Regions from separate parts of the Homo sapiens genome. Here regions 1, 2 and 4 are each linked to region 3. Evidence: promoter capture Hi-C in human tissues and cell types (Jung and others, 2019). All regions are on one chromosome and are shown on one strand. The core of a region is centred on a gene start or on the middle of the fragment in contact, and the rest is flanking DNA. Distances in the headings are between cores, read along the strand shown.

Region 1 (7,452 bases), core at 3,224-5,723, 1.5 Mb after region 3:
GCTACAAAAATATCTGACTGATGTGTTTCAAAACTTAGCTTGAGTTAATCATTTTACATTATGTTGCTTTGTACCTCGTAAAAACACACAACTATAATGTCAATATATTATTTAAAAATAAAAATAAATAATATATAAAAAGAAAAACCTGATATAGCAATCAGTTCTTCAGGATTCAATTCAGGGTATAAAATCTACTCAATTTTTCTCACCTACAAACTAGCTAAACAGCAATCATTTTAATGCAAACTAATGTTTTAAAATTTTTCTTCTAATTTTTTTTTTGGTAGAGACATGGTCTCACTGTTGCCCAGGTTGGTCTGAAATTCCTGGCTTCAAGCAAGCCTCCTGCCTTGAGATACCATTTGACCCAGCAATCCCATTACTGGGTATATACCCAAAGTAACATAAATTGTTCTACTATAAAGACACACGTATATGTATGTTCATTGTAGCCCTATTCACAATAGCAAAGACATGGAATCCACCTAAATGCCCAACAATGATAGACTGGATAAAGAAAATGTGGTACATATACATCATGGAATACTATGCAGCCATAACAAAGAATGAGATCATGTCCTTTGCAGGGACATGGATAGAGCTGGAGGCCACTATCTTAGAAAATGAATGCAGGAACAAACAACTAAATACTGCATGTTCCTGCTTATAAATGGGAGCTAAATGATGAGAACACATGGACACGTCCAGGGAAACAACTCACACAGGCCTATCAGAGAGTGGAGGGTGAGAGGGAGAGGATCAGGAAAAATAACTAATGGGTACTAGGCTCAATACCTGGGTGGTGAAATAATCCATACAACAAACTTCCATGACACAAGTTTACCTATATAAAAAACCTGCATATATACCCCTGAACTTAAAATAAAAGTTAAAAAGGAAAAAAAAAAAAGAAGCAATCCTCCTGCCTCAAACTCCCAACATGTTGAGATTACAGGCGTGAGCCACATGCATGGCAAAATGCTTAGTTTCTTAATGCATCCACTAGTTTGTATTTTATTTGAATAAAAATGTAAAGATAACAAATATAAAATAGATCAACTGATAGCTGAATAAATAAATGTCTGAAACCTGTACATAACAACACTGTGAAGATGATAAAAAATAAGATAAACCTGAGAAACTGTCATTATAGCAAAGAGTAAACAAAGGAGACATGACAACAAAATACAACATTGTATCCTGGATGGGATCCTGGAACAGAAAAAGGACATGAGATAAAAACTAAGGAAATTTTAATAAACTGTGTATGTTACTTAACAATAGTGCATCAATCTTAGGCCATTAATTGTGACAAATGTGCTACATCACTATAAGATATTAATAAAAGGAGAAACTCCTTTTGGAGAATATAAGAACTATCTGTATGTATTATCACAACTTTCCTGTTAATCTAAATCTATTGTGAATCAAATTATTATTTAAAAAACATGGGAAAAAATTCATACACACGGTGATTTGGCTTGGATATCTGTCCCCTCCAAATCTCATGTTGAAATGTGATTCCTAATATTGGACATGGGGCCTGGCAGAAGATGTTTGGGTCATGGGGATGGACCCCTCATGAATGTCTTGTTGCCCTCCCCATGGTAATGAGTGAGTTCTTGCTCTGTAAGTTCAGGCAAGAGCTGGTCATTTAAAAGAGCCTGGCACCTGTTCTATCTCTGTCTTGCTTCCTCTTTCACCATGTAATACACCAGATCCCCCTTCACCTTTCGCCATGATTGTAAGCTTCCTGAGGCCCTCGCCAGAAGCAGATGCCAGCACCACACTTCCTGTACAACCTGCAGAACCATGAGCCAAAATAAACCTTTCTTTTTAAGTTATCCAGCCTCAGGTGGTATTTCTTTATAGCAGTGTAACAGACTAACACACATACAAACTCGAAGACACACACACAAATTGGTATTACCTTAATTTACAGTTGAGAAAACAGAGCTTCTTATAGATCCAGTGATCTGTCTAGATCACAAAGGATGAATTTGGATCATAATAGGATTTTCAAATCTAAAAGCAAAGCTTTCCTCCAGTAAAACCGTTGCCTCTTTATTGCACATTCATTGTAAATAAGGACTTTAAATTTCCATCTTAGTTAAAAACAGTATGTTTTACTCTGCCGAAGGATGGGCAGGAAGTTAAGGGCTGATTGTTAGGGATTTTATATAGGTGCATGAAACATATCAGACTTCCACACTGACGAACTGCTGAGCAAGGGTCTGATTTTTCCCCCACTAAGGCACATGGCTTGGGCAGGCCTTTTTTGAAAGTGGTGGAATTCAATCATTTAGATCCCAATTTCTGCAGTCATGGCTTTAGGGAACTTTTCTATAGATGCTGGATTCATTTTCTCCTACTGTTATCTTTTCATTTATCCAGAGGTCATTCTTATCTCTTCTCTTGGTTGAATCTCAAGGTTGTCCCAGCTTATTTTTGTAATATGTCTGCACCTGGTGTCCCTGATCTTATTAAAACAGCTCATCTCCTATTTTCAGCTTTTTTTCTAGGCAGTATTTTTAACCCATTTATTCTTCTTTCACTAATTCTATCTTCAATAGTTAAATACATTCTAAGCCAAGTTTATAACCTGTAATGTTCTAAATACTTATTTTTTTTAATTCCATTGTTTTCTTTATCAAAGACAGGAGTAATAGATTAGGTTTGTATTTGTAAAAATAATTTTATTAATTTACGATTAGCATGTGTCTAATAAGAATCAATCTTTTCAGTTAAACAGGCAAATGGGCTAATGTTCTCTCTTTCTGAAATCAAAAACTGAATGGTCAAATCGACTTCACACAACAACCTCCAATCTTAAATGATCCAAATATGTGGTTATGTCACCTACTGCTTGGTTTTCTCTTTTAAATAAAGTGTTGTCTAGTGTAAAATACTGATCTCTTTCCCATCTCAGAAGAAAAGCCCAAGACATTCAGAATTCAATAAACTTATTTTTGAATCAAACCGACTTTTTCTGAGAAGAAAGACAAACTACTGAAGGATGCATATTTATTTTGTCACCATCTTGCTATCTTCCCTTCTCCCTTCTCACTATATCCTTCCATAATCACCCCATCTCTCTCTCTCTCTCTCTCTCACACACACACACACACACCCCACACACACCATCCATCAGGGGAACTACAGTACACACTTATAACTCAGAGGGTCCCTGGTTTATAACCCTCCTAGCAGCAATACAAATGTCCACATTTTATGATCAGGTTTTCCTTGCTAGAAGCTTTTGTGAGGTCATCATAGCCAAATGTTATTTTATTTCTTTTATTTCAGAGCCTATTTAAGCAATTCTGAATATAATGTTCAAGTTTTCAAAATGCATAACTGTAGATTCATTATAATTCTGTCAAATTTCATTTGTTTTATCCTCAGTAAGCATGACCCCTGCTCTCCATACAATAATGTCTTTTCTCAGCCTCTAGTGTTTTAAATTCAGTAATTTCATTCTCTTAAATTTTATAACTAGTTGTCACTTTGCATCCTTTTAACAGTTGTTCTTTGAACACTTCATAAGGCTGAACATATTGTTATTTCACTTGATCTATACTGAGTCTACTCATAGCAAGTCGGGTTTATATTTAACCTTAAGGACCTACATCCATTCAACAAACATGTTGAGACAGTCCTTGCTCTTACAGGGCTCAGAATGTCTTAGCATGTTACCTGTGTATACATAATAGTAAATACATATGGACAATGCACTTTAGAACCTGTACAAGGTAGAGTAGAGTAGAGAAAGGAGTAACCTTCCAGCAGTTGGGATCATTTACTAGAGGTCATACCTATGCTGATGTTTGAAGTATGTGCAAAAAATGTAGCTTCTGTGGAAACAAAGCTACAAACAAATGAAAAGTCAAATCTAGTTTACAATTACTTTTGCCTTTTGCTGGCATATGCCATTCTCCTAGCAAATATTCAACTTTTCTAGATAGATTAATGCCCTCTAAGGGACCTACCATTTATGGGGCTTAATATCATTGAAAAGAAAGCTCAGTTTAATATTATTTATAATTTATTGCCATGAATTCTGGTAGAATAAAAGCTCCTTTTGTTCACCAATGCATTATAAGCATGGAGTATAAACACTATGCATTGAACAAATATTTGTTAATCTGACTAAATGAACAAATATCCTAGTATTTCATTTTATAAACATGAACAGAGCACTTACCTTATGGGTTATACTAGACCTCACTATCCTATTAAAGGTGATACAAAAAGAAACAATACTGTAAGTATTTGCAACATTTACTTTACAGTTAAAGGGAAGGCAATAGTAAGGTCAGTTGGTCAGTTAAGTTACTTTTCAACTCTGAAATAAAAAATGCTTTCTAGGAACAGAAGGGTAGGCTAATGGTAAGGAATAGTCATAACACAGGAAGGGCATCTAGCTTCACTGGCTGAAGCTAGAAAAGTCAAAATGCAATGACTCTTTTTCTTTTTTTTTTTTTTTCTTTGAGACAGAGTCTCGCTCTGTCACCCAGGCTGGAGTGCAGTGGCACGATCTCTGCTCACTGCAAGCTCTGCCTCCCGGGTTCACGTCAAATGACTCTTCTTTTGAACAGGACTTGCTTCACATCTTCTTTTCCCTCCTGATTGCTTTGTCCAGGGTGCCTGTGCTAACACCTCTGCTGTGTTAATAAAATTTCCTTTTCTTGCCAGCCTTCAAGAAGAAAGATGATTAAAATGCACCTAGTTCTGCACTCAGGAGCCTATACTTAAGATCAGTGGCTAAAATAGGCTTTCAATTTCCAAAACTATGAATAAGTTACCAGAGTGAGTTTCCAGTGAGTCGGCTGTAAGGCATACTAATGCCTGTCTAATGCCATATCAGGTCTCTCCCTGACCTAAGAAATCACTCCCTGCCTAAGCCCTCATTCTCCCCTAAATATCCCCTACTATGTTAGTTGCCTTTTGTCTAAAACAAAATCACTAAAAAAAGCAAGACCAAATAAAACCTCATATGAACAAAGTAGGCCTTTTAAGCAAAAATGTTTTATGTGATAGCCACACTGCCTGATGCACTGTAAATGTTAAATGTTAAATAATGGTTTACAATAAGAGGGAAGACGGAGAGCTTACGACTCAGAAAACTACATTTTCATTTCTGACCTAGGCAAAATGAATCATGTTGCTATTGTTCGCCTATCTCAATAACTTAGAAATGTTGTCATTTCTTTTACAGAGAAGACACAGTATAAAGTTGGAATACTGCAGAAAGAAAAAGAGAACTATCACTGAAATTAAGTCAAAATATTTGGTTGAGTTCTATTTAACATATCTTAAGTTGCATAGCCATGATTCAGAGGTTTCATCTTCCATTTACAACAACATAATAATTTTGAAATCACCATAAAAATCCCAAGAACCTAATGTGGTAGCTTCACAAGGAAGCATGCCTCCTGCCTGCCTTCCTTTCCTTTCCTCCTTTCACCATACATCACCTCCACATTACAGATGAAGAAAATGAAGATGCTGGCACAAGTGGATTAAGGGCCTTGTCCTGTAACTGAACTGTCATTTGAACCCACGTCTGTGTAACTCCAGAGGTAAGATTTTTGGAGAGCAATAGCTACCTATATATGGATGCTACCTATATATAGTATACATGTAACTATCTAGATACTTTCTATCATGCCAAAGTCACAACTTTAGAAAAAGATAGGCTAAAGTCAGGAAATTGGATGCATTTTCAACGGAAATGTCTCAAAGAGAGTATATTATGATGATTAAAGCAAAGCTCACTAGAGTATTAGAACAAAATGACAATGTTCATACACTGGTGAGGGTGCACTGTGTGTGTTATTTAAGGCATTTATGTAACTACACAACCCTACTATGAAGCAATTGGGTGACATCTATCACAACCTAAAATAGCAACAGTACTTTGGAGAATCAATCCTAGACAAATAATTTAAACGTGTGGGAAATGTGATATGTACAGAAGGATCCACCTTATCCTTATGTTTAATAGCCAAGCAAAAAAATAAAAATAAAAATAAAAAAAAGAAAGGAAAGAGAAAGAGAAAGGGAAGAGGAAAGGGAAGGGGAAGGGATTCCCAACCATTAGGACTATAACTATGTTAACAACGGAACACTGATTCCATTAAATACTATGCGGACATAAAAAATACTGGTTATTTTGAAGATTATTTTAGGAAAAGGTACAAATGCTTATGATACATGTTGGTCCCATCACTCAGCTCCAGCTACTACTGAGCACCCTGCCTCACGCATCAATGTCAATGAGAATGGAAAGAATCTGACTTGAAGATGGATTCCCTAAGCGTTCAGTCTGGTAAACTGGTGTGAATAAGTCAGAATCCAATAGGTAGCTTAATTGTTGCTTCCTAAACCCCCCAAATTTTACTTATTTGTACTAGGTAAAGGTAGAAAGCACTGGTTTAACTTAGTTGACCAAATGAGGTGAAAAGCTACATATTCAAAAAATGCACAATATGAGGAATTAGAAAAAACAAGCCCATGGTGATATTATTGGAAAGAAATATACCAGTAAGAAGACATGAAGTGATAAAAACTATACTTCTTCTTCCAGCATTTTAAAAATATTTCTATAATATGGTTCAACTGCTTCGCACAAAAAAATTTGAGTATATTTTTAACTGTATTGTCATTCCTATGAAACAGTTCCTTCACAAAACACTCATATTTAAGGAATACATGTTTTTTTTGTTTTTATTTTTGTTTTGTTTTTTACAAAATCAAAGAAAGAAATTAAAACATAAGGCAAAAAACACTTATTTTCCTTGCTACTTAAGACTTCAAATTATGCTACTTTTTTCACTTAAAAGTTTATTTTTTTTCGGATTTCTGGAGTCAATTATTGAAACTCTCTGAATAGGCTGCCAAAATAAGTATCTACTGATATTTTATTTCCACTTTGTAGAGCCCTAACTGAGCATTCATGTTACCAATAAAAACAGGATATTATCTCTCCATAGTCTAAAATCCTAAATGACTTTATCAGTTTACAAATAAAATTCAAAGAAATGATCTCTTCTACTTCTACCAAGAAAAAAGCCAACTAACCAAAATTATTAGGGAAAAAAACTCAACATTTCAACTGATAACATTCAGATGAACCTGAACAATTACAATATAGATTAAAAATTAGAAAAAATATATGAAGTATAAACATAGCTAAATGACTAAAATATCCTCATGTTTGATTAATGAATTGTGTTATGTTTCCCAGTTAACAAATCCTTTAACCATTGACCACCAGACTTCAATCTATAAATACTTTAGAGAAGTAAATTGTTTCCATTGGATAAGCATTACTGTTTTAAGTTATACATGGCTTCTAATATATTAATTTGCAAATTTTTACATTAGTGACCTCAGATAACAAATGCACTTTAACAAGTATCTTGTACTCAAACACCATGGCAGCTC
Region 2 (6,750 bases), core at 3,033-5,532, 1.6 Mb after region 3:
GTCATTATAATGTGTATGACTGAGGAAAAGAATGCCTTTCAGCCAGTCAGTGCTGTATGTGTGTGTGTGTGTGTGTGTGTGTGTGTATTTTGGGTAGGTGCAACAACACATAATAAACAGTTCTTATGTATGAATGATATAGCTTAAAGATGAACTTCTATGTAAAAATAGCTTTTTCTGTTAATATATGTGAAAATGTTCTATGATAAGTACTACTTTTCTGGAAAGAGTACAATATCATGATTTGTTGTTCATTACCCATTCAATTGCTTCAAATTCAGCATCTGGTTCTCATTACAAACTTGTTGTATTTAGTTTTGCTTCAGTGTTATCAGTTGCTCAAGTGAATCAATACAATTTTCAAGAATTTTAGAATAAGTTTGTTTATTGGCTGATATATGTTGGCTTTTTATATATTTATAAACAAATGTCTGTTTTTATTTCAGTAAAATGAATTAGAGATTGGTTATATTAAAAGAAATAATACTATATAATACTCTATTATTATAAAAATGAAAATAGTTATTTAAGTATAATATATATTAGTGAAACATTTTGTCACATTAAATTTGGCAGTTTCTAATCATAGTAAGTGTTGTTCACATCATCTTATTGGACCATTGACATAGGTTTAATATTTAAAATTATACAATCATTGTTAATATTGCTTAATTGAAAAACATGTTTGTATGGCCTACAAAAAGTGCTTAAGGGTTGCCAGATTTTGCAAATGAAAATACAGGATTCACAGTTAAATTTGAGTTTCAGATAAACAACAAATAATTTGTAGTATATCTTTTGCAATATTTGGAATATACACTAAAGATTTATCCATTATTTATCTCAAATTTAAATTTATCTAGGCATCCTGTATTTTATATGGCAAATCTCTTTAGCATGTAAATATACAAGAGGTTAAAGCTTTTTTCTGAGCTATAGATAGATGGATAGATAAATATAGCATCACCTCAGTTATCTGGAAGTCAAACTTTATACTTGTTAAGGCTAAAGAATGAGATACCGTCCGAATTACAGGCAGACAGGGAGGTAAAGAATGTAAACAGGGAAGGAAGAAAAAGAGAAGAAAATAACAAACTACTCTGGCTCCATAAACATGACTTGCGAACATCTATTAATAGCAACTGTGAAAATAGCCAAACTCAGAGTAAGAAGGATTGAGCCTGATGCTCCGAAATTGCTGTACTCACACCAAGTGAAAAGCAACACTCATATCAGCAATCAATTGCACAAAACCTGAGAACCGTTTAAGAGAGAATGAGAAAGCAAAAAGAACAAAAGAGAAATGATGGGAAAGAGACAAAAGAGAGTTAGTTACAAAGAGCCAAGGTAATGACAATAGGAGTGGAGGTCTTAATAGAGCAGGAGATCCAGTGACTTAAATAAATTCTGCCATTGTAGAAATATAATGGAGTGGGTTTGTCTTTCATTCTCAAGAACTGACAATAGTATAAGGGTGCCACTCCACTGAAAGCCACATTATCATTTGGCCAACTCAACTCTGTGGCATGCAAAGAATAGAAATTAAGAAAGTCCTGGCAAAACCATTTTTGGTTCAGGTAATCACAATAATGAAAATCAGTCTTGCTGAAAATATGCAAATTTCAGTGATATGAGGGAAGATAAGTAATTTGCCTAAAGTCACCACAGCTAGTAAAGGAGTAAAATCAGGACTCACCCCATTACACCAAAGTGACACCAAACTTACACCAAAGTTACATGTTTATTTTACCTAATATTTTTATGTCTACCAACAGTTTATTTGCTCAGGAGGAAGAGTCACTATGGTAGAGAAGAGTTAAACCATAATGCAGTGGAGATATGTGACTTGCATGGTAGATTATTCATGGGGAACAAAACCATATTAAGTATGTCAAAATCCAACAGGTGAAAAGGTGAGAAAATATCCTTATTGTGTTCTCATTCTAATTGAAAAGACAAAAACGCAGTATATGAAAATACTTAGGAAAGAGTCATGTGACAAATAAAAATGAAAGGAAGGTTAACTCTAAGTGCTGAGAAATAAAAACCCATGGAACTGTAGAATTCTGAGTAGTTTATTCCCAGAAGAGTTCAGCAGGAATTGAAAGCAGAATGTATAAAATATTGATGAATTCTTGACCACTTGAACATGTACTAATGCTGTAATTAGTAAGTATCCTTGGCACACTGGTCACCTACTTACAAAATGCTTTTCTAACTATTTATATAAAAGACCTCCCAACCCTATATTTATTGTCAGTCACTATGATTCCAGTTGCCATGTTTTATTTTCTTTTTAGTTGTTTACCATTATGGTAAATTATCGCTTTATTTCCACCACTACCTTTGCAGTGGAGAAAATATAAGCTTCATGACAACAGGTACTTCCTCTGAACTGTTTGCTATTTTATCACCAACACCCAGCATAATGCCTGATTCAGAAAAGAAAGCTAAATCTTTGTTTAAAGAATGACAGAATGAAAGACTGATATTTATGAAAACAAATCCAGTGCCTGTAAGACATACAATTTTTGTTTGTTTTATGTTCTGGATTTTATTATGGAGTATGGGTCTCATATTCCTTGGTTCTCTTGCATTTTAAAACCTATTCCCTGCTTTTGAACTCTCAGGTAACAAGTTGAGTTAGTATAAAATTCATAGGTCACCATTTCTGTCAAATAATGAAAGTCCTTGGAGATTTCTGGCGCTGGTCATGTGATTATTTAATTTTGTTTAAATAATCAGTAATTATTTAGTTTAAATTATTTAATTCTGTTTAATTTGGAGGGTTTTTTGTTCATTTCCGTAGTATGTATTGTACTGGCTTAATCTGCTAAACTTCAGGGGCTGTTATTATTTCAATAAACTTTCTTCTATCATTTATTTCAATACTTTTACATTTTATTTGCTTTCTACCAACCAACTGTACTTCCTTCCTGTATTGTTAATTATTAGGAGGTATGATCAATAAGTCTAGAAATCATGATGGCTAATTTTCTTACCCAAGACATCTTGGAACTTTGGCTCGAAAGACACTGGAAAACAGCACACCACTCTCTAAGTGACTTGTTATTGAGACATACACAGCATGGCATGGTGACAATTAATGGCCCAATTGAAAAATTGTCTCTCTTGTAATTTTCTATGTAAGGATCATGGAAACAGACATTAATCAACTGTTTAGTTCCTAACAAGTACTGTACTAATACCAGTCCCCTATGAACTAGCTCTTAATGGCCCAGTTCTGCAGACAATCAAACTTGCTCACACCCTCCTTAATCCAAAATACAGCTTACAAAGAGAAGTATATTTCCAGTCACCTTATTTTATAACCCAGGAAGTTAATCCAAAAGAGTTTAAGAGAATTGCTCAAAGTTAGCCCAGCCCCTCTCTTGACTCTCGCTTAATTACTTTTTTCCATTAAATAATTTGTATGTTACATTTGGACACTATAGATCAAAAGATTTGGGAATGTGGACTACATGAAAATGTGTAAAGAGATTACTTATGCCAACTCTTCAACCATCATGGAATTCTTTTATGTCATTTTCTAAATCAAAATATAGTCATGTGTCACTTAATGACGGATGCATTCTGATAAATGCATTTCATTTTCATTATTGTTTGAATATCATAGAGTGCACTTACACAAACCTAGATGGTATAGCCTACTGTACATCTGGGCTGTATGGTATAGCCTATTGTTCCTAGGATACAAACCTGTACAGCATGTTACTGTACTGAATACCATAGGCAATTATAACATAATGGTAAGTATTTATGTTTCTAATCATATCTAAACATAGAAAAGGTACTGTAAAAATGCAATATAAAAGACAAAAAAAAATGGTAGACCTGTATAGGACACTTACCCTGAATGGAGCTTGCAGGACAAAGTTGCTCTGGATGTGTCAGTTAGTAGTGAATGAACGTGAAGGCCTGGACATTGCTCTACACTACTGTAAACACTGTACACTGAGGCTACACTAAATTTAATATTAAAAATATTTTTCTATTTTTTTACTTCAACTTTTATTTTAAGTTCAGGGGTACATGTGCAGGATGTGCAGGTTTGTTACATAAGTAAATGTGTTCCATGGTGGTTTGCTGCACAGATCATCCCATCACCTAGGTATTAAGTCCAGGATCCATTAGCTGTTCTTCCTTATGCTCTCACTCCCCCCACCACCCCCCTTGACAGGCCCCAGTGTGTGTTGTTCCCCTCCACATGTGTCCATATGTTCTTATTGTTCAGCTCCCACTTATATGTAAGAACATGCGGTGTTTGGTTTTCTGTTTCAGCATTAGTTTGCTGAGGGTAATGGCTTCCCACTCCATCCATGTCCCTGCAAACGACATGATCTCAATTTATTATAGCTGCATAGTATTCCACAGTGTATATGTACCACATTTTCTTTATCCAGTCTATGACTAATGAGCATTGGGGTTGATTCCATGTCTTTGCTATTGTAAATAGTGCTGCAGTGAACATACGCATGCATGTATCTTTATAATAGAAAGACTTAAATTACTTTGGGTTTATACCCAGGAATGGGATTTATGGATCAGATGGTATTTCTGCCTTTAGATCTTTGAAGAATTGCCACACTGTCTTCCACAATGGTTGAATTAATTTATACTCCCACCAACAGTGTAAAAGCATCCCTTTTTCTCTGTAACCTTGCCAGCATCTGTTTTTTTTTAATTTTTTTAATAATAATCATTCTGACTGGCATGAGATGGTATCACATTGTAGTTTTGATTTGCATTTCTCTAATGATCAGTGATATTGAGCTTTTTTTCATATGTTTGTTGGCCGCATGTATGTTGTCTTTTGAGAATTATCTGTTCATGCCCTTTGCCTACTTTTTAATGGTGTTGTTTGTTTTTTTCTTGTAAATTTGTTTAAGTTCCTTATAGAATCTGGATATTACATCTTTGTCAGAAGGATTAATTGAAAAACTTTTCTCCCATTCTGTAGGTTGTCTATTCACTTTAATGATAGTTTCTTTTGCTGTGTAGAAGCTCTTTGGTGTAATTAGGTCCCATTTATCAATTTTTGCTTTTGTTGTGACTGCTTTTGGCATTTTTATCATGAAATCTTTGCCTGTGCCCATGTCCTGAATAGTATTGCCTAGATTTTCTTCTAGGGTTTTTATAGTTTTGGGTTTTACATTTAAGTCTTTAGTCCATCTTGAGTTAATTTTTGTGTAAGGTGTAAGGAAGGGGTCCAGTTCCAGTGTTCTGCATATAGCTAACCAGTTCTCCCAGCACCATTTATTAAACAGGAAATCCTTTCCCCATTGTTTGTTTTTGTCAGGTTTGTCAAAGATCAGGTGGATGTAGGTATGCGGTCTTATTTCTGAATTCTCTATTCTTTCTTCTTTTGGGAGTGGGGACAGAGTCACTCTGTTGCCCAGGCTGGAGTGCAGTGTTGTGATCTCAGCTCACTGCAATCTCTGCCTCCAGGGTTCGAGTGACTCTGCTACCTCAGCCTCCCAAGTAGCTGGGACTATAGGCATGCACCACCAGGTCTGGCTATTTTTTGTATTTTTAGTAGAGATGGGGTTTCACCGTGTTGGCCAGGCTGGTCTCAAACTCCTGAACTCAACTGATACTCCCACCTCGGCCTCCCAAAGTGCCGGGATTATAGGCATGAGCCACTGCACCCAGCCCCAAGTTCTCTATTCTGTTCCATTGGTCTATGTGTTTGTTTTTGTACCAATACCATGCTGTTTTGATTATTGTACCTTTGTCATATAGTTTGAAGTCAGGGAGTGTGATGTCTCAGCTTTGTTCTTAGGATTGTCTTGGCTATTCTGGCTTTTTTTTGTTTAATATTAATTTAAAATTTTTTTTTCTAATTTTGTGAAGCATATCAATGATAGTTTAATGGGAATAGCATTGAAACTGAAAATTACTTTGGGTCGCATGGTTATTTTCGTGATATTGATCCTTTCTATTCATGAACATGGAATTTTTTTTCCCATTTGTTTTTGTCCTCTCTGATTTCTTAGAGCAGTGGTTTATAGTTCTCCTTGAAGAGGTCCTTCACTTCCCTTCCCTTGTTAGCTATATTACTAGATATTTTATTCTTTTTGTGGCAGTTGTGAATGGGAGTTCATTCATAATTTGGCTCTCAGCTTGTCTGTTCTTGGTGTATAGGAATGCTAGCAATTTTTTGCACATTGTATCCTGAGACTTTGCAGATGTTTCATATCAGCTTAGGAAGCTTTTGGGCTGAGACAATGGGGTTTTCTAGATATAGGATCATGTAATCTGCAAACAAAGATAATTTGACTTCCTCTCTTCCTATTTGGATGCTTTTTATTTCTTTCTCTTCTTGATGTCCCTGGCCAAAACTTCCAATACTATGTTGAATAATAGTGTTGTGAGAGGGCATCCTTGTCTTGTGCCGATTCTCAAGGGGAATACTTCCAGCTTTTGCCCATTCAGTATGATATTGGCTGTGGGTTTATCAAATAGCTCTTGTTATTTCAAGGTATGTTCCTTCAATACCTAGTTTACTGAGAGTTTTTAACATGAGAGGATGTTGAATTTTATCGAAGGCTTTTTCTGCACCTATTGAGATAATCATGTGATTTTTGTCTTTGGTTCTGTTTAGGTGATGAATCACATTTATTTTTTATTTTTTATTTTTTTCTTTTTTTTTTTTAATTTTTTTTTTAAATTTTTTTTTTTTTTATTATACTCTAAGTTTTAGGGTACATGTGCACATTGTGCAGGTTA
Region 3 (7,035 bases), core at 1,805-4,304:
GGACAAAGGGTGAGTAGATGAGGCTTGAGAGTAGGCAGGGACCAGAAGGACACTGAGAGTCTTGTGTGCCTGCTATAGAGTTTTGACATTATTTATAAGCCTTGTGTTTCATAGAAGCATTTTAAACTAAAAAATAAATTAATTGGCTGATTTTCACTTAAGCCTCACAATAACCATATACATTAGGCAAGGCAGCTATTATTATTAATATTATTATATTATTGAATATGAAATTGATTGAGTGGCTAGTTTATATGAACGTAGCTAGAAAGGTATAAGTCCAGGACTATTTATAAACAGTGAAAAAGCCTTCTGACTTCAATCAAGTCCTTTTGCATCGTTATGATGTTATTCATAAATATTTATATCATAGTCTTTATGTGTATACAAATGTAGATTTATGTGAAGAGTGTCTTCTTCTGGGGTAAGAGAGAGTTTGGATTAGACTGATTTGCAGTTCTTAAATTATTGTTTATTGATAGGTGAGAATTACCCATGACATTTTGGTGTGTAAATGAGCTCTTTAAATGACTCTTTAAAAAACACAACATACATTGATATATTTATTCCTAGATATTTGCTTATAAGACTCTAATCATTTATTCATAGTTCAGAGGCTTATTGTTTAAATGCCATTTTGAAAGGTCGAATTCCGTGAAAGAAAACAGGATTTTAACTTTCTGTCATTTTTAACATTTAGCATATTTGAAATTGGAGATAAACTATTTTTTCCCATACCCACATGTTCTTGGAAAGAACAGATGCAAATAATTGCCCAAATATGACTTTTAAGATATAATGTGGCTGAGCACAGTGGCTCATGCGTGTAATCCCAACACTTTGCAAGGACAAGGTGGGCGGAACACCTGAGGCCGAGAGTTTGAGACCAGCCTGGCCAACATGGTGAAACCCCGTCTCTACTAAAAATACAAAAAAATGAGCTGGGTGTGGTGGCATGTGCCTGTAATCCCAGCTACTCGGGAGGCTGAGGCAGGAGAATCGTTTGAACCCAGGACACAGAGGTTGCAGCGAGTCAAGATTGCACCACTGCACTCCAGCCTGGGCGACAGAATGAGACTCTGTCTCAAAAAAAACAAAAAAAAAAAATCTAATGTGATGCCAGTAGACTTCGCGATTAATATCCACAAATTATGGCTGTTGGAATGGCATGGGATATACCTAAGGGGTGCTCTACCTGTGCCTAATCTAAGTACTTCTCCAATATTCCTGTTTTGAAAGGAAAGATAACTCTTTAAGAAGTTTCTCTTCTTTTTTCGCCTTCTCTCTAATTTCCGTTTATCCTGCAGGCAAAGTATCTTAAAGGGTTGACTCAACTAATATCCCTCCTGTTTTGAGCAGTATAGCCTAGTGATTTAGCTCTCAGGTGCTGAATTCAGATAGGACTTGGTTCCAATCCAGGCTCTGCCATTTGCTAGCTATGTGTAAGGAGCAAATTGTAATAGGACCTGTGACTGTTGTGAGGATTAAATACAGTAGCCCTAGAAAAGGGCTTAGCACCTTGCTTGGCAAATAGTAATTGCTGTTAGTTACAATGTTCTCCAAGAGAATAATATATTAGCTATTAACGGTTTTTATGTGCTCCCTTGGAAAATAATCACAGTAGGCAAGGGTTAAAGATGGATGTAGTGACTTTCCCAGAGCAAAACACAGCAAGACTAGCTGAAGGAAAGTACCAGCTCAATATTTGTGACATTGTATGAGTTCTTAAACATATAGATAACTTAGTGTGGGATTATTTATTTTGACATAAGAATTAGAAAGAAGTCAAGGGCACTCTCTCGAAGCAATACTAACACAGTCCTCCTCATCTCCTCTCTACTGCAAAGCAGTCAACATTAATCAGAAAAGGAAGGCAGATTTTCCACGGCCCATGTTAAATAGTCTCAGTGTTGTCTATCCTCTAGGCTCATTTAAACCCGAACCATTGGACTATGCTCCCCTAGTCCCTGAGGAGCACTCCTGCTTGTACTTGTCATCTCTCATCCAGCTGTTTCAGATGGCAAAATAACTACTGCTCTAAAAATCTTCTGTAGCTCTTTTAGATAATTCTAGTGAGTAATTCACGAAAATTATTCTGTGGATAGTTCTAAGTAAATATTGCTCTTGTAATGATCACTTAGGACTTAAACCTGTCACAGAAACACAAATTCTTATTAATAATAATAATAGCCACTTGTAAAGTACCTACCATGTGCTTTATATATTACTGTCTCTAGTTCTCATAACAAAGCAGAAATTATCATATACATTTTGCAGAAAAATATATTTAGAACTTGTGAAAAGGCTTGTTTAAAGTTCCTCCACCTTGGCAGTATTAAAATTTTGTAGTGTATAATTCTACGTTGTGGAGGGCTGTCCTGTACATGATAGGATGTTGAGCAGCATCTGCAGACTTTACCCACTGGATGCCAGTAACATCCCCACCCCGGAGCTATGACAACTGAAAGTGTCCCCAGATTTGCCAAATGTCCCTTGAGTGGTAAAATCGCTCTCAATTGAGAGCCAATAGGTTTCCTATTGCTCTAGAGATTTATTGTTAACATGTGGTTTATGAAGACCAGGATACTTGATGTTCTTTGTTGAAACTCAATCAAGTAACCAATTTAATATTTGAGAAATGGTTTCATTTTGGATGATGGTAGAAGTGAAAATCAGCAATGAGAAGTCTTACTTGGCTTTTCCAAATCCTAGTATAGTCTCCTAAACATTTATTATTCTTTTTATGAACAAATACATACAGAATATATAAATTAATGAAGATAAGCCCGACACAGTACATGTACCAGATGGTGCCAGGTAAAACTACTAAACAATCATATATCGTAGCAGTGATTAAATGCTATTACCAGATAAGAAATGATGAAAATCAAGGCTTGCATAGGAATGTAGAGGACATACCTGTGCTGTGGTTTGCTGAGACTGATTACTTGGGTGAGAGCCTTCTTCATTCCGACGAGAACTTTGTTCATTCTCATTGTTCTCTCCTATAGGCTTCACCTTGTTGACTTTTGTCAGCGATTTAAACATCTTCTCTGAGGTGGTTCTGAAAACCCTCTGTATTTATGACTGTGCCTTAAGGTAGAGAAATGTACTTTGTTTTCCTTTTCTTTAGTAGACAAGCCAATTAGCTGTTTAATCAGGATTTTGTTCTGGTTAATTCCTACAGGCAACTCCTTAGCTAGTCAGGGCTTTGGCTTAAAAGCAGCAAAATACTTCTGCTTGGGTGATTTGCACTCTGTTTATGAACTTTAGGGAGTCAAAATGATCTTGTGAATAATTTAGAAGTAGAGGATTAAACACAGCTTCATAGTTGATTTGAATGGTTTAAATGTGATCACACAACACATTGTTTTCTTTCTTTTTTTTTCCTTCTAATTACCCACCTACTTATCTTTATCTGTCTAACTTTATGCAAAGTAATATGGAAATGATTAAAAAAAATCCATGAGGGCTTATGATATGAAGCAACTCATTCACTCCTCAAAATCCCCTTCTCTGGTCCTGCAATGTTAGGCCACTATTTTTAAGCTTTCTTTTTCTGTTCTTCTGGTGGTTGATTTCCACATGGCTAAACAAAAAAAAATCTGCTTATTCTACTCTGCCTCTGTGTGTGTGTGTGTCACTTTTGACCCCAAACCTGTGTGAGGCAAAGATACAAGACTAAGATTTGTTAAAGAGAACTTTTTTTTCCCCTTTGCCCGGAGCCCAGACAAAGTTGATGTTCTATGCTGTTGGATGAGATTTTTTAGTGCACCAAAGACGCATGATTTTTTTTAAAGGGGTTCTGTTTTTGTTTTTGTTTTTAATGAGAGCACTTATCTTCTGCAGTTTCAAATTAAAACCAAAGCCTTTATGCAACAAGGTACACACCCACACCCAGGGCAGCCTAAGTCAACCCATCAAATACTTCTTGCCCTCTGTATTTTTGCAATCTGGAAATTTCCTTGAGATACTAGTTATGTATTTTAAGATACGTTTATTACAGTTAATACAGAAAAAAGCCTTTAAGTATTTATGAAGAAAGCATTTTAATTTAGATTTCATATTACCAAAATCGCAGTTCCCTTATGGATTTTTAAAATAAATTAGAAGTTTTAATTTTAGATTCAACCATTTTATCAAAAATAAACTTACCTAATAAATAACGTAATTGAATACATGATTTGACTTATATGGCCTGGAAACACAAAGCTATTTATTTTTGTTAAAAAATGGTGGGGGGTGTTTTGGTTCCATTATTGCTTCAGAAATAATTCTGAATAGATTATCAAATATGTATAGGGCCATTTTAGGAACTTTTCAGATAATCCTGTAATCCTGTAATTGATTACATTTTGAACTTTGGGTATAAGCATAGAAGCTAAGCCAAAGGAAGGGAAGGTGTTAACAGCCAGCCTGTGACTAATTTTTTCCCTTCCTAAGACCTGCAGAGGAAAAAATGACCTCACCAGACTTTCGTATAAATCTCATAGTATTTATCAGTGGAAAGATACCAGGGAGTCCCTATTTATGAAACTTTTTTAGCAGGACATTTCTGGTCTGTCTAGATTGCTTATTGTAAATAAGCCTGGAATTTAGCAGGCTGGCTGGAGAATGGAGAGAGAGGTGCTATGTAAGCTCTGTAAGAGAATGTGGAACGAAGATGTCCCCAAACCAAACTGCCTTCTTTTTGTGAGAAATGTTTTTGCAGACAATGCTCAAAAATTACTTGTAAATGCAAAACCAAAATATGCCAACTGCAGGAGAAAAATGGTCTGTTTTGTTTGGATGCTGTGTCTGACAGTTTGGGGTTTTTCCCAAAATGAATGTTTTGTTTATTCCTGATGGCGGCTTGTAGCCAACGAATCATTAATAAAGTTTGGTGCTATGTAAGATCTGTGATTCTGGCTAGTCTGTTTTGACAATTTAACCCTTTAGATTTGTCACAGGTCAGAATAAATGGGATGGAGATATTATTAAATAATTCAAGCACCTTTAAAATGATTTAAAATACCTCCAACAACCTGATTTTTGACAATAGAGTGGCATTAACATGGGCATTAAAATTATAAATGACTACTTTTATTTTGTCTAGATCAGAGGTCTCAAAGTTTGGAAAATGGACAACTAGAAAGAATTCTGGAATGAAGGACATGAATTTTGGATCATTCTTTTTCACTTTAGTAGCTCTGTGGACTAAAGTAAATCTCTTGCCTTAACCTGGAAATAACTAGGTTGGGAAAAAACAATGTTTGTTTTCTTCTGGTTTTAAATTCTGTGATTTGTGGTCTTCCACAGAGGAGCTCTTCTAATCAGCAAGAAGATAAGGGAAGAAGGAGGGTTGCTTATTCTGGGTGAAATGGCTTACTAGAATTTCACCAATAACAATTTAATTTTTTTGTACCAAGTTGCCATATTGCTGAGGTAGTGTATGACAATGGGAATAAAAACAATTTTTCTTCAATATAACGGACTGTTTGTCTAACTGAAGCCCCTCAGCCACTCCTCCTTCTCTACAGCATAAATGTATAAACTCCTTACCAGGACATTCCCGGCCTTATATCATTGACCTTTGCCTAACTCTAGTTTAATCTGTAACCCCGACCTCTCTTTTGGCTCTTGCCATAATCAGTAATTTAAAATAGCTTGAACTTCTCTGCTTTTTCTTGCCTGTACCCATGTCTTTGCTCATGTGTACTGTTCCCCTGCCTGCAACGCTGTTCCACTTCTTGTCTATCTAGCTTAAGCTTGGTGTTTCCTTCTCCTACCGTTCCTCTCTTCTACCATGGACAGCTATACCTATAATCCTGTCTTTTTGTTGCAATTGTATCTGTGCCATACAGAGATCTCTACTTTGTCACTTCTCATTTTACAGCCATGTCCAGGTCTATTTTCTCTATTAGAGCATAAGCTCCTGCAGGCAGAGACTATGCTTTGGCCACCTTCAGATTCCTGTGCCCAGCTCAGTGCTTGACATATTCTAGGTACTCCATGAATGTTTGTTGAATAAATAACAGGAAGAAGATGGTATAGACCATCTCTTAGTTCTAGATTAACAGTGAAGAGATTCTCTGTGGTAGATGCAGTGTGTAAGAGAAGTGGAAAAAATCTCCCTGGAAGAATGCAAATGTTGTAGCCTCATTGTTTTTTATTAGTAGCCATTGCAGGCTGAAGTTGGGATAGGCTGAGAGAAGCATGCATAAAATAATGGTATGTTTTAAAACAAATGGTGTCTTAGATACCGTAGATGGTATACAGATGGCACATAGGAATATAACACGTAAAATACAAATCAGATGGTAATAAAGCTATGCTAAAACAAAAAGATTATCATCATTAGCAAACAGTTCCATATTCTTGTTGTGACTAGTAATTTTATTTTCAGCAGAGCATTAGCCATCTTACAGACAGCATTGTTTTAATCTTATTGATTTTTAAGTTTTATGTTAAATTTTCAAACAAGTTTTAGCTTTATGGTTCTATAAAAATTATAAGCAAATGAAGATTATATCTAGTTTCAGGTTGGAACATATTTAAGTATTATTCTTATGAATTATTCAAATAGGATCTGTAATAAAGTTTTCACTTAATAGGAGTCAGGTTTGGGAAATGCTATCTTTCTTTGAGGGAATCTTTAATGATGGAATTTCAGACATTCCCACTGGGGGCAATTTTGAACGAGGAGGACTTTCTTCTGGTAATTCTCAAATCACAGTCTCCTCTGCTTCTGGACGGGGTCAAGGGTTGAAGACTTGTTTGTTTTTGGCAAATTATTGGAAACAAATTAAGGTTATAAAACCAACTAAGGTTATATTTTCCCCTATGTCTACTAGAAAGAAACATTTAGGCAATTTTCCAAGATCTTTCTGAATTAAGTTCAAGTAGTCTGAATATTATTTCAATAAGAGAAGAGCAACCACCGAGTATAAAGGGAATAGCTGGTTTACAGTAGATAACCTAAAACAGTAATTGAAGGGAAACTCCCAGAAGTTTTCCCCCATCTCAGGTTCAGGGCTGTGTATTTTTAGGAGAAGA
Region 4 (7,294 bases), core at 1,406-3,905, 1.6 Mb after region 3:
CTGCCATGCCCAGAACATTTTTCCCTAAAGTGCTAATTTCCTTCTTAGTTCATCAAATATGTAATCACTGGTGCCAAGAGGCCCTCAGTAAACCAGGTTACATCTTAAATCGTGAACTGTGTTCATTGATTTCTTCAAAATCTACAATTGGCTATGATTCATTTTGCAACATCTGATTGCACCTAGTATCTGTCCTTGATTTTAAACCAAGTTCTTCCAAGCCATTGGAGTCTTTAAGCAGCTCAATAGCTCCCTCTAGCCTCTTTTTATATACTACACCAAGAGGTCACATTTAATCAAAGGTTAGGGGCTACACTTACTCTCTCGGCTCAGCTTCTGTCATGTGGCTCATCAAGCTATGCCACTATCCAAAACTAAGGATGCACAATGCCAAACAGTTGTGGTGAAACACCAAGCAAAAAATATCAATTCAGAGTGCTAAATGACAGGAAACAACAATCAAATATGGTTTCATGAAGAACCTCAAAATCTATAAATAACTTCCCCAAGTAAAAGAAAAATAAGGCAAAAGAAAATGTGAATGTCCCATATATCATTACTTAGCATTCTGTCCTTTTAGTATGGAATTTTTTATTGTTCACATAAACTACATATTTTATAAAATAAATGCAATCTGATTTTTCATATTCAAAATCAAATATGTGGTGAAGAACAAAAAAATCCTCAAAGAACACATGCCCAAATTATTTCCCACAATGGGCAAATGGAGAATACAGTATAAGCACTTAATTTCACTACAAAATATGTGTATATTTGTATACATATACAGAGAGACAGATTTAAATTTTGAGACACTCCCTCCCAAAAACTGTTAAAACTTAAGATTTTGAACTTATTCCAACTTGCCTTTTTATGATTGAATTACCACTTGTAGATGATATTTGTTTCTCAAAATGGCACTAAATTATATTTTTTAAATTAATTTTTAAGGTTTGCTACCTTGGCCAAAACTAGATTTTAAAATTACGTATCATTTGCTGCCAATGTATTTACTACTCAGCAGAAGGCTACGATGATTTCCAAAATGGAACATCCTTTGGAACTACAGATGATAACACATGTTAGATTTAAGTTACACATTCTGTATTTCCTCATGACATTTATTTCAGAAAAAAAATCTGAACTATCTACCTTTGTGATTCAGTAGTTACCAAATTTACAGGGTCAATATTGCATTTCCCATCCCCTTTGGCTACATAAACTAAAGCTTCTAGGCTTACGACTATAAAATTTCAAATTTGGAAATGGCCTTAGTGACAGTTTAGTTCACATCTCATTGTTGCAGATGAGATATCAAATAAGTTACATGTCCAAGTTCAAAGCCAGGTTAGCAAAAGAACCTGAGTTAAAGCCCACTTCCTTCAACTTCTCCCCCAGTGCTCAATTACACCACATTGCTAGCTATCTTGCCATTCCCAATGTTATATGGACACGATATGTTTTTCACTATTTTTTACTATTGTAGAAAACACTTTAATTTCTTTTTCAGTCAATTCTTATCCCTCCCTATACATAATTTTTGAAAAACTTTTTTGTTGTTGTTCAGAATCTGAGGTATAACAGAGCTGGCTTAAGTTTCTTATTGAATCCTACCCATATTATGAAAAGGAAGCACTTGGGGTTTGATCCAATTAAAATAAAAAGGCCTACTGAATTATAAAGGCCTATTTATTTTCTATGGCATTAGAAAAGATGAACAGATTTCAGCGAACGTGATGTTGTAAAAGAAGGTGTGAGCTGAACTTGATATTCTATGATAGTAACAGATGACATGACAAAATGTGAAAATCACATTCTTGAACTAAACTGTCTAAGAAAAACCTACGGGAAGAAAATGTACTGATGTTAGCTTGGTTGATTTTCAGTACATTATATTTTTAATAAATGGAAAGGTGTTTAAATAAAATCTTCCTATACCAATTGATATGTCCTAACCTGATAGATGTTTATGTCATTAGATGCTATGGTGCCAATTACTTCCTTATCGACCTTTATTTTCTATTAATAATAATGACATGTGGCTAGATGTGGTGGCTCATGTCTGTAATCCCAGCACTTTGGGAGGTCAAGGAGGGAGAATCACTTGAGCTCAGGAGTTTGAGACCAGCCTGGACAACATAGTGAGATCTTGTCTCAATGAAAATTAAAAAAAAAAAAAGAAAAAAGAAAAAGCTGGGTATGGTGGTATGTGCCTGTAGTGCCAGCTACTCAGGAGGCTAAGGTGGGAGGATTGCTTGAGCCCAGGAGGTTGAGGCTGTAGTGAGCTATGATCACGTCATGTAATGGTTTCATGAATAACCATAGACCTGAGTGATCCGGCCCAGGCAACTCTGAACAGAGAGGCATAGTCAAGGTAGAACATGTAGGAGAAGCTAGAGAACCTTAAAACAATTGAGACTCTTGTTCTCCTTATCATAGCTTTGGGCCCTTATGAGCACCCTAAACAGCCAGCATATTTGAGACGTTTTGTTAAACCTGCAATCTTGCGGTACATAAAAATCTTGATGAATCAGTCATACAGCCCCTGTTGTTGACCAGTTAGAAACTGCTACAGTGGAGAATTATAGGCTATATTCAGGAGACAACCTTTACTCAAGAAGGCATGGTACCACCATTCTTCCATGTCCAAATGAAATAATGCATCTTGATTTTTTAAGCAAGCAAAGAACAAGAGAAAAGCAACAGTGTCCCAACATAAGAATGTAAAATTCTATAAAATATAATTTTTATCTCTGAAATGTCTCATGATTAATTATTACCAAATTTATATGCAATACAAAAGTACCCAATGCAAACTCTGACTTTTTAGGTACATGCAGGCAAACCTGACAAAGGTTTGAATAAATCTTAAATCAGTTAAGTAAATATATTGCAAGAAAAATTTAGGAAATAGTTATACTCAATTCATATTTGTCATAAAAGACCCCTTTGAAATCTAAAATATCTCTGCTTTCTTTAATCAGGAACAACAAAATCAATTTTTGCCTTATCAAGACTTTTTTTGTCACAAAAGAGTAATCATTTTATGCTTTGATATATGCATCATTTAGAATTTTATATGTTTTTATTTTACCACTAAATCAGCTTGAAAATTTTTTCCTCCCTGGAAATGTATGCTATTGTTTAGAAATTGATAAGGAATATGCTGTTCACATAAGTAATATCTGACAAACTATTCAGAGTTGACGATATGAGAGGTATTACTATCATGAACTATGTTCTGTCTCAAATTTCATAACAAAAATGCTCACAGCATACCAAAAAAAAAAGCCACAGGATCATGAAAATCCCTATATGAGATAGCTATTTTAGGAACAAAATGATTTTTAAGACAGTAGACATTAATAATTATTTGTTAATAATTTAGCTGCTTCTGACCAATGAACACCTCTGATTCAGACTGCTGTCCAATGACAACAGTTTTTGACTTTTAGTTAATATTAGCAATGTTCCCTTGCATCGTGCTAATTATCACATACTGAAAGACCAACTCTTAAAAAAGGGATCCAATGATATATGGATATCTTTACCTAAGTGAGTATATACTGAAAACTTAACAATAAAAGTGTTCCACTTGAAATGAAAGTAGAGCAGTGTATTGAATCTCTTCCATAGTACTACTCCTGGTAGTGTCTGACCCTTTCTTAGCTGTAAGAGATGTTCCTTTTTGCTTCTTAAAAAACAAGCTAACCAAGCAAAACCAAATGCACTCTCTTTCTGTAACAGGATTTCATCACCATATTAAAAATATCTCTCACTTCGATAATTGACAACTCCAAATATTTATACCCTTAAAAATCAGACAGGAAAGAGTTAACATGAATACCTCTAGCCAACCACCCTCTTCAAATCCCCCACTTCCCTGGGAAAAATATACAGTCTTAAACCTTAAATCACAGAGATAAAAAAGAATGGGGGGACCACAAATTGTTAAGTTTAGTGATGAATAAAGCAATGTAATCTTAGTTGTCAGCATAAAAAGCATCCCCCTGAAGCTTTGTTCCAACTATAAAAACTTTCTGTGCTTACTGAAAAAAAATTTTATGATCATATGAGCTTCATGCATGACTGATATCATTACTGTTTATTTTAAGACTATCCTTGAGAATCAATCAAATAAAACATTCCCAGTGTGTATGTTTTGCAACCAGAATGAGGAACACAATGTAAGTGCCTCTTCTGGAGAGGAAGTGATGGACCATTCTTCCCATTAGTGTTTCCTATCAAAAAAAAGTCAAATAGAAGTGAATCAGGCAGAAATTTATGTCAGAAAACATCCCGTCATTCTGTGTTCTTGACAATATTTCCATTTCACTAGCAGCTACTCCTACAATCTAAAAAAAAGGGGGGGTATCATTACACATAAAGAAGCTTATAAATCCAACCAAAATGAGCTCAAGAGCTTAAAAATACTATTTGAGGATAACATAAACTAAGGCATATAATCTGCTCTAAACCATGAAAAACTTCCCATTTTATTAAGCAAGATTTTAAAGGTCTGAGATGGCACATGACTTATCTGTCAGGCTTAAATCTGTGTAATAAATATGACTAGAATAATTTAAATCCTCTAAAAATGGGAAAATAACTATTTTCTCCATAAACCATTTTTCCCCACACATCTTAATGAAGAAAGAGAAGGGGTCATTGGAATCCAAAATTAAATAAAATTTGTTAGTACAATCATAACTTTTTTGCATAATAATATCTGAACTTACTGAGGGATTCCAATATAAAGAAATACAATCTTTTATGTTTAGTCTCACAAAAAATCTAATAATCATCAAAACTCATGTTATCCTAACCTCTGAAAGCAAATCTAATACTTTCCTAAAGCAGGTAACCATCAATCCAGGCTGTCCTTCCCTTCCCTTATTCAGAAAGACACAACCTTGCACTTACTTTTACCACCTCCCACACACTCCACCTCACCACCATCACCACCAACCTGAAGCAATAGGCCCTTCTGTTTATAACATTATAAATAACAGCTTGCCACTTTAATTCCTCCAGCCTATGAACTAATCCTTCATTTCAACATTAAATTATCTCTTGATTTAAATGTTAGGTACAAAAATCCATCTGTGGCACGTAATTCCAAAAGTTCAAATTTGCAATAAAAAAAGTCTGGACTTTCAAGCCCCTTTCTCTTTTTATCTAGAAAAATAAAGTTGTATTTTTCAAAGGGTTAAACCTTTTTAGTTTTCAAATTGGGTTTTTTTTGTGTAATTTATTCATACTTAATATCTGTGAAGGTCTTTAACTCTTGATAATAGCTCTTACTTTTTCAAATACTTTTTTTGTACTAACCATGACTTATTACATGAAGTCCTAAGAACAGTTTCTATAAACACAGTTATATTCAGAATATGCCTTTACACATGGCATTTATTATGCACACTCTGTGTATCAATTGGTTACATGAAGCATGTTCAAATACTGTGCAACAGGTCTTGCTATTGTGTAAACACACACTCCCAGCAAAATGACAATAAGCTTCATAATATCAACAATATAAGAAAAAAAATCACATTATTCCTTAAAAAATTATTCATAATTCGTTTGAGAGTTCAGAGGACATCAGATCTAATCAAAAGAAGTAAATGTTACTAAGACCCTCTTACTGGCTTTGTATCCCACCGTATATGTGATAAAGTTGTGTTACAGCCCAGGTGTATACACGCTTTCATTGATTTATTGCACATTACTGGCTTCAGTGCTGACTTGATGACAGGAAGAGTACTTTGGCAGAGGTCTGACAAGTCCCTATCCTTAAGTTCCCTTTTGCTTTGTGCCGTCTGTTCCCAAAGCTATCAAAGTAAAGCAAATGACAGTCTAAAACCTCCCCGTTTTGCCACGAGAGTGTGAAATCAAATTAAAAACACACCTCAAAACTATTACATTGGGCCACGTTTATTTTCAATTGGCGGGGGAGGGGGAAAGAAGACACTTAAAAAGAGATGGATTTCATGTCCTCTGTGTAGCCAGATCTAGTTACAGTGTATTAAGTTATGTCTAAATGAAAAAAAAAAAGATTCTCAAGTGTTTTATCACAAAGTAATGTTATTAAACACATCTAGTGTTCCCACGCTCTCCTCTAGATTCTTTGATTTTTAACCTCCTTTGTTAGGCACCAAACACTGGGAGAAAGATTTCAGGAACAATACCTAGGCAGCACATGATGCCAGGGAATTAATTCTGTCTTCCCCGAGCTGTTTATCCATCATAAACTCAAGCTGCCTTATTTAGCTACACGGTTGCTATATGTAGGACTTCTCTTCCCTGGGTGAAAAGCATGGACCGGCTACAATTGTGTCTTTGAGCGCGCAGCATCGTGCTTTGTGCTGCCGGGGATAACGGATTCTGGGTCTCACACGCATCCGTCACCTAAAACACCCTTAAACTGAACCAGGGTCTCCACAGCTGGAAGGGAAACAACGTGCTGGGACCCAGGCTGCTCTGAGCTACAAGGATCCCAGGAGTGAAGGAAATGTTTCAGGGAGCAGCCCAGGCAGCGGGGGGAGGAAGAAAGCCCTCGCACTCTTACCTCCACATTGAAATACTGCTCCGTTCCGCAGACTGTAGCACATAAAATCCAAAGCAAGGTTTGCAAGAAAAACACCCCCGAATGATGCACGAAATCCAACCGTCTTCCAGTGCTGAATGTGAGTAAGATCATAGTGAACTGTGCTTCAATGGATGGACGAGCTCCCCTTCGTTTTCTCCCTCTCTCCCTCTCCCTCCCTCCCTCGTTTCCTTTCAAAAAAAAGTCCTCCGGGTGGGTAAGGAGCCTGCAGGTTCACCCACAGCCGGGCAAGGGGAGGAGACAGGGGCCCCGCGCTCGGCAGCCCCCGAGAGGCAGCGGCGAAGACAGGGTCAGCAGTAGTTCCTGTTCACCATCCTCCGGGGTCAGTCACCGGGAACGTGGCGCCTAAGTTCACCGGCGGTTCCGGCTCAAAGAGCCTAGTCGCAGCCGCAGCAGCAGCAGCCGCCGCCGCCGCCGCCGCCTCCAGCCCGTGCGTCCTCCTCCTGCACTGCCTACTCCTCCTCCTCCTCCGCCGCCGCCGCCGCCCCCAGCTCCTGCGGGAAGGGCCTCCGCCGCTCCTCACTCTCTCGCCTCTGCTTCTCCTTCCCTCCTCTCCTCGCTCCCCTCCAGAATGTTCATCCGTAATCTACATAACTCCTCCTTCCCGGGGTCTGCCTGGCTCTCGGGGCCCTTGGCGCGCGCGCGCGCGCGCACACACACACACACACACACACACACAGAGACACA

Evidence for each region. Contacts are between HindIII fragments. The study calls those that stand out against the background at their distance.
Region 1: a contact is called between a fragment that was not itself captured here and the fragment with the promoter of CNGB3 in region 3, in 1 of the 25 tissues and cell types used here (dorsolateral prefrontal cortex).
Region 2: a contact is called between a fragment that was not itself captured here and the fragment with the promoter of CNGB3 in region 3, in 1 of the 25 tissues and cell types used here (dorsolateral prefrontal cortex).
Region 4: a contact is called between a fragment that was not itself captured here and the fragment with the promoter of CNGB3 in region 3, in 1 of the 25 tissues and cell types used here (spleen).

What each region holds. Positions count from the first base shown.
Region 1 is chr8:88,253,571-88,261,022 of GRCh38, forward strand. All of the region lies in intron 1 of MMP16 (matrix metallopeptidase 16), which reads right to left. Among named protein-coding and RNA genes, the nearest start is that of MMP16, 70 kb to the right of the region's middle. The HindIII fragment of the contact is 5,154 bases long and covers 1,897-7,050 here.
Region 2 is chr8:88,338,991-88,345,740 of GRCh38, forward strand. The region is part of intron 2 of LOC105375630 (a long non-coding RNA gene); the gene reads left to right. Among named protein-coding and RNA genes, the nearest start is that of MMP16, 15 kb to the left of the region's middle. The HindIII fragment of the contact is 5,276 bases long and covers 1,645-6,750 here.
Region 3 is chr8:86,740,580-86,747,614 of GRCh38, forward strand. It overlaps CNGB3 (cyclic nucleotide gated channel subunit beta 3), which reads right to left and starts at 3,055. Exons shown (of 18, transcript NM_019098.5): 1 at 2,920-3,055. The coding sequence starts at 3,048. The HindIII fragment of the contact is 5,975 bases long and covers 1-4,648 here.
Region 4 is chr8:88,320,507-88,327,800 of GRCh38, forward strand. MMP16 (matrix metallopeptidase 16) reads right to left here and starts at 6,977. Exons shown (of 10, transcript NM_005941.5): 1 at 6,569-6,977. The coding sequence starts at 6,700. The HindIII fragment of the contact is 4,597 bases long and covers 358-4,954 here.